Linked DNA regions of Homo sapiens: all the other regions are linked to region 2. The links are contacts of gene promoters, found by promoter capture Hi-C in blood cells and fetal thymus (Javierre and others, 2016). All regions are on one chromosome and are shown on one strand. The core of a region is centred on a gene start or on the middle of the fragment in contact, and the rest is flanking DNA. Distances in the headings are between cores, read along the strand shown. Region 1 overlaps FMN1 (formin 1). Region 2 holds the start of GREM1 (gremlin 1, DAN family BMP antagonist). Region 3 overlaps FMN1 (formin 1).

Region 1 (2,700 bases), core at 144-2,643, 220 kb before region 2:
TAGGATTCTACGTGTCTTCCAACCCACTCCACAAGAATGTCTTAAAGAGAAACATAACAGTCATTATGAAGGTACCTTTATCTATTTGGAAGCCCATGACTTAGAAGTGGGATGACTGTTACTAAGACAAGCTGACTTGTCATCAGTAGCATATCTACTTTTTACCAACCAGCCTCTTAATGTCCATAGTTTGGCCAGGTGGTGGAATTCAGCGAGTATTGATGTGAAGCATAAGCAAGAGATAACACTAGTTTGATGGCACAAAAATAGAAGTTGTATTTTTTAGAATTGTACTTGGGAGAATCAGATTGTCTAATTTATGTGAATTCTCCACGCTGTTGTTCAATCTTACCAAGAAAGGCCAGATCATTTACACACTTGTTCTATATAGCTGACCGTGTACCCTATGTGGATATTTGGTATACAGGTCGAGTATCCCTTATCTGAAATGGTTGAGACCAGAAACGTTTCAGATTTCAAATTTTCCAGTTGAGCATTCCAAATCTGAAAATCCAAGACCTGAAATACCCCACTGAGCATTTTCCTTGAGCACTGTACCAGCGCTGAAAAAGTTCTGGATTTTGAAATACTTCGTATTTTGGAGTTCTTGAGTTTTGAATTTGGGATGCTCGACCTGTATATCATTGTCATGAAAGTAAATGTCTACTCATATATATATGGTTTCTACATTTATTTGTTTGTTTTTGGTGGGGTGAAATAGTTGATTCAGACAGGAAAAGCAGCAACTTTCACATGCCCTTAGTTCCCTGAAGTGCCAGCAGCTATTCATTGGTGATAGCACATGTGGCTGTATTTGAAAAAACTCTCTGCTTATTTGCCAGGCTCTAGGATAAAACTGACTGTGCTGGAGATGGAAACCCTGTGACTGGAACTGAGTATGTTCAAATGTGAAACTTAAGCCAAAGAGCAAAATATGCACTCGATCTGGTATAGGTATGAATGTGTTTGGTGTCTAGCAAAGGTGTAGATGTAGAAATTAATCATCTTCCTTTCAGACAGGGAAGGCTCCATGGAAGAAGAGGGCTTCTGTGTTTCTCTTAATTTTGTAGCTATGCCAAACTCACTTGGCTGAGCAGACTTCCAGCACTTGTGGTCTATTCAGAACCATTTATTTTTATTTTTGGCCCTGTCTGCCAAGCTCAGGCAGAAAGCCGAAGATATACAGTGTACAGATTTTCTGTAGATGTAAAAATCCCACTGGACCTGACAAGAATTCTTTCTCAGCCTGTCTGGCAGAACTTTTCTAGCTGAGGTTGAAGGTATGATTTTCCCAGTGTAGCAAATCTGTCTTCCCATTTTTGTCTTAATTCTTATTCACAGAGGCAGGCTTTAAAAAAATTCACATATGTGAGGAATAATAATAATTTGTCTATACTGGCTTAATGTACAGGTTTAGACAGTGTGGGCCTGCCTTTCCCACTCTGGAAGGCATTGGGAGAGTCCCTTAGGCGATGTAATAGTACGCACGTGTGACATGCCCTAATCCTGGCATGTGGCAGGGGTCTGGAAAGGCTTTGCCTTAAACTAGGCATGTCTAATAGGGTTTAACGCAACCTGTGAATTTGCCCCTGCACAAGGTCAGCTTGTAGGTCAGTGGAATGCTGCACAAATTGCATTCTCCTCCAGACTGTAATTATACCTAGGAGAAAGCCATGTGCTGCCAAGTTCAGCTGACTCTAGATAGGGCGGAGATAAAGTGAGGGCTTGCTAACGTCCCTCAAAAACTGATTTTTAACAATCTGATATAAAACATCTCTTGTTTAAAAAAAAATGGTGATCTTGAGGTTTCTGAAGGAGCTTAGTGTAGGGGATGGTGACCAGCTGTTTCCTACCTTCCCTGAGAGCAGAAAAAGATGGTTCAAAATGGGAGCATGAGGAATTTGAGCCAAACATCAGGTAAAATAGTTCACTGCCAAAAGTCTCTTAATACTAGAAAATGACTTGGAGGATTATTACACATCAGGTAATATGCATATGAGGACAAAGAAGAATGAAAAGTGAGTATGATAAGGGATCATAGACTAGGAGTGGAATGAACAGTTTAATTTGTATTTACAATTAGCTGAAGTAGTGCTCTGTTGTATTGTTTGAGAGAAAATGGCTATAAATGTGTGCATTATCTAAATGTAACCTTTATAATGAAGTGTGCACATTCTTGTAAAGTAAGGTCTATACTTACATACGTGGACTTCTGGGCCAACCCAAAGGCAGAGGGATAAATTAGATGAAATTTGTAGGTTTCTTCAGTGCTAAGTGTTAAATGACTCCAAAATCCAATTCAACCAGAGTAACATTGGATAAGCAAAATCTTACAAATACTTACACTCTCCAGTAAATGTTTTCTGAACTATCTTTCCTGAACAGCCTGTAGTAGCCACTTTTCCCCCCAAGAACCTACATGGAATAAAATCAAGTTGGGAGCTTAAAGCATAAATTCTATCTACTGGCTTCACGTAAACATGGAAAATAATTATTTTGACATTCATATTATTGGTTCCTGCAGCTTGATTTTTTTCGCAGGCTGCTTTTTATGTTACGTGGGGATAAGGCACTAACCTGTGGGCCGGGGCTTTTGGGGAACCTTTCCTTTGTTATTTACCTAAGGCAAGCTAACTAACTCCTTTTAATATGATGAAGCTGGATGCTAATACAGTCAGGAATCCCACTAACGTCTAACAA
Region 2 (2,700 bases), core at 165-2,664:
CGCAGGAATTTCTTCACAGCAGAGGCTGGTCACCTGCCGTCCGTCCCTCCCCGCCTGGCCCGGTGACCGTCGCCAGAGCCTGGCGCAGGCAAATAAACGCCAAGCTGGGGCACCCCCAAGGAGGAGCTGCGATCCGAAGGCAATGCCAAGCGAGAGCGGTGGCGCGTCTGTTCTTCCGGAGTCTGTAGTCTACAAATAACTCCGGCCAGCAAGGAGGTGACAGCCCCAATATACCTCCCACTCCCCTGCTATGGCCTTGCTCCGCAAGCTGTGGAGGGGCCAGCGGAGCCAGCCAGGCAGCGAGAGAGAACGAAAGACGCCCAGCTCGTTGCAGCCGCCAACCCGCCTCAGCCGCCAGTCCCTAGTCCTCAGGAGCTAGTGAGGCGCTGCAAGGCGAGGCTGGGGCCTCTAGAACACAGTTTAAGGGGTGCGCGCGGAAGTGGGAACCAGCCGGTGGCCGCTGCCCGGCGCCAGAACGTCTACCATTCAGCCCGGGCGTGCGCGGGGCGGGGAAGAGGCTGGAGTAGAGAAGCGAGCGCCCGCGAGTGCGTGGCCGGTCCGCGAGCGCGTGTGGTGTCTGCCTTGTGAGCACTGCGGGTTCGCTGGACCCCGCGGCCAGGGCCGCGCCCCGCACCGCAGCTGTCGGATTACCCACCGTTCGGTTTTCCGCTGTGGCTGAACACAGCGGCTCTGCCCTTGCCAGTCTCCATCTCACCTCGGGGATCGGCAAATGCACACATCATGGATTCTCCGGATGCTCCAACCCGCGGACTCCAATGGGCGCCCCAAGACGCCCCCAGACCCAGCGCGGCGCCCCAAGCACATGGGACCCTCTCAAGGCAACTCGCCGCGCAGTCAGCGGCCGACTAGCAGGTCCGGATGCTCCTGCGCTCTGGCGGCCTGGACTTCGCGCCCTCGCTAAGCGGGCGCGTCTGCCAGGCGCTGCTGCCACCAGCACCAGGAGCGTGTTCGGGGGCCTCCGGGAGGTGGAAACGGGATGTGGGGGTCATCCTGCCCGCTCCTGACAACTTTTTTTCCTACGTTTCCCTGCAGACCCAGAGCAGCGAGGTCACGGTGTCCGCGGCCTCAGCAGGAAGGACCCCGCGATGGTTCTTCACAATTCACCCCCGCGAACAACGCACCCGAGCCTGCGCGCACGGAGGGCTGCCGCGCGTGGAACTGAGCGGGTCCTGGGTTGGTTTGCGGCCCTCTTCCCTCCGCCCACTCACATCCCTGCCGGGTGCGTCCGCGCTCACCTGTCAGTGCGGCGGGTCCTCGGGGCCTGCGCTTTCGACGCGTGGCGCTGAGTGCGGCCGCGGCCAGAGCCGCCGGGGCTCGGCGCGGGGTCAGCGGGACCGAGAGTGACGCGGCGGCCGTGCACTGGGTCGCCCGGTCCGCGGAAGGCGCACCGAGTGCCAGGCATCGCGCCGTCTCCCGTTTAAATGCCGGCGGCAGAGCGCGGCGCCCGGGGCCGCGCCTCTCCATTGGCCAGGCGCCGCCGCCGCCGCCAGACCCGCTATCCGCCCCCTTTCCCGGTACTGCCCCCGCCCCCCGCACCCCTCCTGCTTCCCCGCGGGGTCCCCTCTCCGCCCGCCTCGCCTCTTTGTCTGCTCCCCCCGCCCGGGCCGGCTGGGAGAGGTCACCCCAGGGAACCGCGCCTGGAATGCACAGCAAATCACATTTTCCGCTCCCGTTGGAGAGGGAAGAGCGGGAGGAAATCCCCCCGGCTGGCGGCCCCTCATTCCTTCTCTGCCCCAGGTCTGGGCTTTCCCTGTCGGCCGCCCGGCATCGCCTGCGTTGGTCCCGCGCTCAGTAGCGGAGACTGCGCTGGGAAGAGCGAGATCTCCGTGGGATCGTGCCAGATTCGGCCATTCTTCCCCTCTGGAGGGAACGGGACTGCGGGATGCTCTGGTCGAGCGGCCGTCGTGGCTCCCCGGCGGCCCCGCCCGAGGCCCCCAACTTCGAGGGCGCTGACCCCGGCGCCCCCGTTAACCTGGCGGGCTCGCTGGCCGCCAGCAGGAGCCTGTCGCCAACATGACACCCTGCTCTCCTCGCCCGCCAAGGGTTCTTTCAGCCCAGATGCCGGCGGCCTCCCCTGTGAGTGTACAGAGGGGAGTCACGGGAGGAGAATAAAACTAAATGACCGTCAAAAGTCAAGGCTTCTGTTCCTAAATTATCTTAAGAGACAGAGAGAAAACAGCCACTGGGCGAGAGGGGTTTTCTGTAGCATATCAAAGACGAATAAGTCAGGAAAATAAAACGTTAGATGAGGAAGTAACTTCCCAGAAATTTAGGACAAAAACCTACCGACGTGTAAAACCAATGTCACATTCCGGATACCAAGTACATAAATAGTTTTCGAAAGATGAGCGAACACTTTCATTTGTTCTCTTAGCCTGAAAAATTGGTTCCTCAAAGAGGCCGTAAGTTTTGTGTGTTGAAGCTAAAGTCCGTGCAAAAATTAACACGTCTGCAAGATCTGCAGACCAGCTCCATCAGCCACGTCAAATGAAGACTTTGAAAAAGATTTGCTACAGAAGGAAATATGAAGGTGTCTGTATTGTCTAACGCGAAATAAACAAAACAATGAAATCCATCAAAAGATACTTACGAAACACCCGTAATTTAAGTACTTGACTAGGAAAACAAAACCAGACCAGAAAACAGCCTATTTTTTTTTTCTCTTTAGTCCGGCGTTAG
Region 3 (2,700 bases), core at 198-2,697, 240 kb before region 2:
TTTGTCTTTTGTTGCCATTGCTTTTGGTGTTTTAGACATGAAGTCGTTGCCCATGCCTATGTCCTGAATGGTAATGCCTAGGTTTTCTTCTAGGGTTTTTATGGTTTTAGGTCTAACGTTTAAGTCTTTAATCCATCTTGAATTGATCTTTGTATAAAGTGTAAGGAAGGGATCCAGTTTCAGCTTTCTACATATGGCTAGCCAGTTTTCGACTTTCCAATTTTGTTCTTATGCCTAGTGGCTGCTGTATTGGATAGCATAGATGTAAAACATTTCCATTGTATAAAAAGCTCTGTTGGACAGCACTGTCTTAAGCATTGGTATGTGTTGAGGGCAAAAAATAAAAGTAAAATAATAATAATAATAATAATAATAAATCCTTGCCCTGTGGAGCTTATATTAACAAACACTAAACATAAACCCTGTCAATCACATAGTAGTGCAGGGGAAGGAGGGTCGACTTTAGTAGGGTGGGGGTGAGGTCTGCAATTTTAAATGGGGTGTTCAGGGTAGACCTCATTATGACGGTGGCTTCTGAGTAGTGACTCAAGGACTCAAAAACTTGAGAGGCACCAGCTTTCTGTAAGAGAATGAGTTTAGGACTGTCAGGCAGTCAGAGACAACCATGAGGACGAATCACACCTCTGCCACACATTGACTGTGAGATCTGAGGCAACGGTACTAGGTCCTTTCACTCTCTGTGTCTGGGTCCCTGCACCATAGCCTGAGATGATATCTGCTCATAATGTTCTCTAAGTAATTATTCAATGGGGTAATCCATGTATCAGGCTCAGCATAGTGCCTGGCTCACTGTCAGTGCTCAACATATGACAGCTGCTCTTGTTTTTGCTACTGTTACTACTACGGCTACCATTTCCCTGTTTTAGTGGGTTTTTGTTTGGTTGGTTAGTTTTTCTTATTTTTAATAGTAGCAGAAATGGTGTTGAGGAAAAAGTATAGTACTCTGTGTTGCTATTGACTTGCTATGTGAGCTTGGGCTGGTTGTCTTCCTTGTCGTATTTTCCCTTCTCTATAAAAAAGGATTACAGGCCGGGTACGGTGGCTCATGCCTATAATCCTAGCACTTTGGGAGGCTGAGGTGGGTGAATCAGCTGAGGTCAGGAGTTCGACACCAGCCTGGCCAATTTCGGGAAACCCCGTCTCTACTAAAAACACAAATATTAGCCAGGTGTGGTGGCGGGCGCCTGTAATCTCAGCTACTCGGGAGGCTGAGGCAGGAGAATCGCTTTAACCCAGGAGGCAGAGGTTGCAGTGAGCTGAGATTGCCGCATTGCACCCCAGCCTGGGCAACAAGAGCAAAACTCCGTCTAAAAAAAAAAAAAAAGATGAACAATATCTGAATCTACCTGACCCACCAGTATGTTGTGAAATTCACATCTAAGCAGGTTTGAGGCAGTGTTTTGAAAAGTATGTAATATTGAATGATACCATCAACCCTGCCTTTTTTTTTTTTTTTTTTTTTTTTGAGACGGAGTCTCACTCTTGTCATCTAGGTGGGAGTGCAATGGTGTGATCTCGGCTCACTGCAACCTCTGCCTCTGGGGTTCAAGCAATTCTCCTGCTTCAGCCTCCCGAGTAGCTAGGATTACAGGCATGCACCACCATGCCCGGCTAATTTTGTATTTTTAGTAGAGACAGGTTTTCACCAAGTTGGCCAGGTTGGTCTCGAACTTCTGACCTCAGGTGATCTGCCCACCTCACCCTCCCAAAATGCTGGGATTACAGGCGTGAGCCACCGTGCCAGGCTACGTTTCCTTGTTAAATTACATCATGGGGTTCATCATCAGTTCATTTCTCAAGTAATGTAATGATTATGAAATTAGCTGCAAATTACAGGGGAAAAAAGGAAAATGTCTGAATTCAGTTTTCTGTTAATCAAATCAGATTTTCCCACTGACTTCAATTACGGATAAAAATCATGATCAAAATGTTTCTCAAGGTCACTGTAATTGTGTTGTCTTGAGAAAAATATCCAAAGAAGTATTAAAGGAAAATTTTAAAAGGCTATATTGCATGGAACAATTTGAATTTTTCTAATAAATTGGCTCTGTGACCCCACCCAAATATCATGTCAAATTGTACCCACGTGTCTAGGAGGGACCTGGTGGGAGGCGATTAAATCATGGGGGTGGATTTCCCTTTCTGTTCTCCTGATAGTGAGTGAGTTCTCACGAGATTTGGTTGTTCCATAAGTTTCTGGTGCCGCTCTCACCCCACCCTCTCTCTCCTGCTGCCATGTTGGTAGTATCTTTATAGCAGTGCGAAAATGGATTAATACAAATAGTAAGTTCCAGACAAATCCGGGCAAAAAAAGGTCAGCTGATTTACATAGAATGTATTCCCATGCAATTAGATTCATATGAGATGGAGGTAAGCCTGCTTTGTAGCCAGGCTGGCTTTTTAAATGCCATCTATAGAAGCAGAAGACTTGTTTCTACCTGAATGGCAAAAGGAAAATCTGTATATTCCAAAGCCAACTTCAGTTTGCCTCTTTCAGGAAGGCTTGCCTGAACTCACCAGAATCTCCTCTGAATGCTTTCTTATGCAGGATCGTATTAAATTTACTTTTGTTCTTTATTGCTTCTTAGATTGCTATTACTCTTTTTGTTTCTCTCCAGATGCTTGAAAACATGTTGTTTACTCATAGAACTATTCACTTCTGTTTTGGTGAATGAATAT

Evidence for each region. Contacts are between HindIII fragments. The CHiCAGO score rates a contact against its expected background, and 5 or more counts as called.
Region 1: a fragment that was not itself captured here is called in contact with the fragment with the promoter of GREM1 in region 2 in 6 of 17 cell types (M2 macrophages, M1 macrophages, M0 macrophages and 3 more); the score reaches 11.1 in M2 macrophages.
Region 3: a contact is called between a fragment that was not itself captured here and the fragment with the promoter of GREM1 in region 2, in 4 of 17 cell types (M0 macrophages, M2 macrophages, M1 macrophages and 1 more). The highest score is 12.1, in M0 macrophages.

What each region holds. Positions count from the first base shown.
Region 1 is chr15:32,940,913-32,943,612 of GRCh38, reverse strand. All of the region lies in intron 9 of FMN1 (formin 1), which reads left to right. Among named protein-coding and RNA genes, the nearest start is that of GREM1-AS1, 220 kb to the right of the region's middle. The HindIII fragment of the contact is 4,431 bases long and covers 1-2,700 here.
Region 2 is chr15:32,716,718-32,719,417 of GRCh38, reverse strand. GREM1 (gremlin 1, DAN family BMP antagonist) reads right to left here and starts at 1,414. Exons shown (of 2, transcript NM_013372.7): 1 at 1,257-1,414. It overlaps GREM1-AS1 (GREM1 antisense RNA 1), which reads left to right and starts at 553. Exons shown (of 2, transcript NR_109767.1): 1 at 553-873; 2 at 1,054-1,317. RefSeq lists enhancers at 114-691, 692-1,270, 1,408-1,908. The HindIII fragment of the contact is 6,086 bases long and covers 1-2,700 here.
Region 3 is chr15:32,959,782-32,962,481 of GRCh38, reverse strand. The region is part of intron 9 of FMN1 (formin 1); the gene reads left to right. Among named protein-coding and RNA genes, the nearest start is that of FMN1, 230 kb to the left of the region's middle. The HindIII fragment of the contact is 6,719 bases long and covers 1-2,700 here.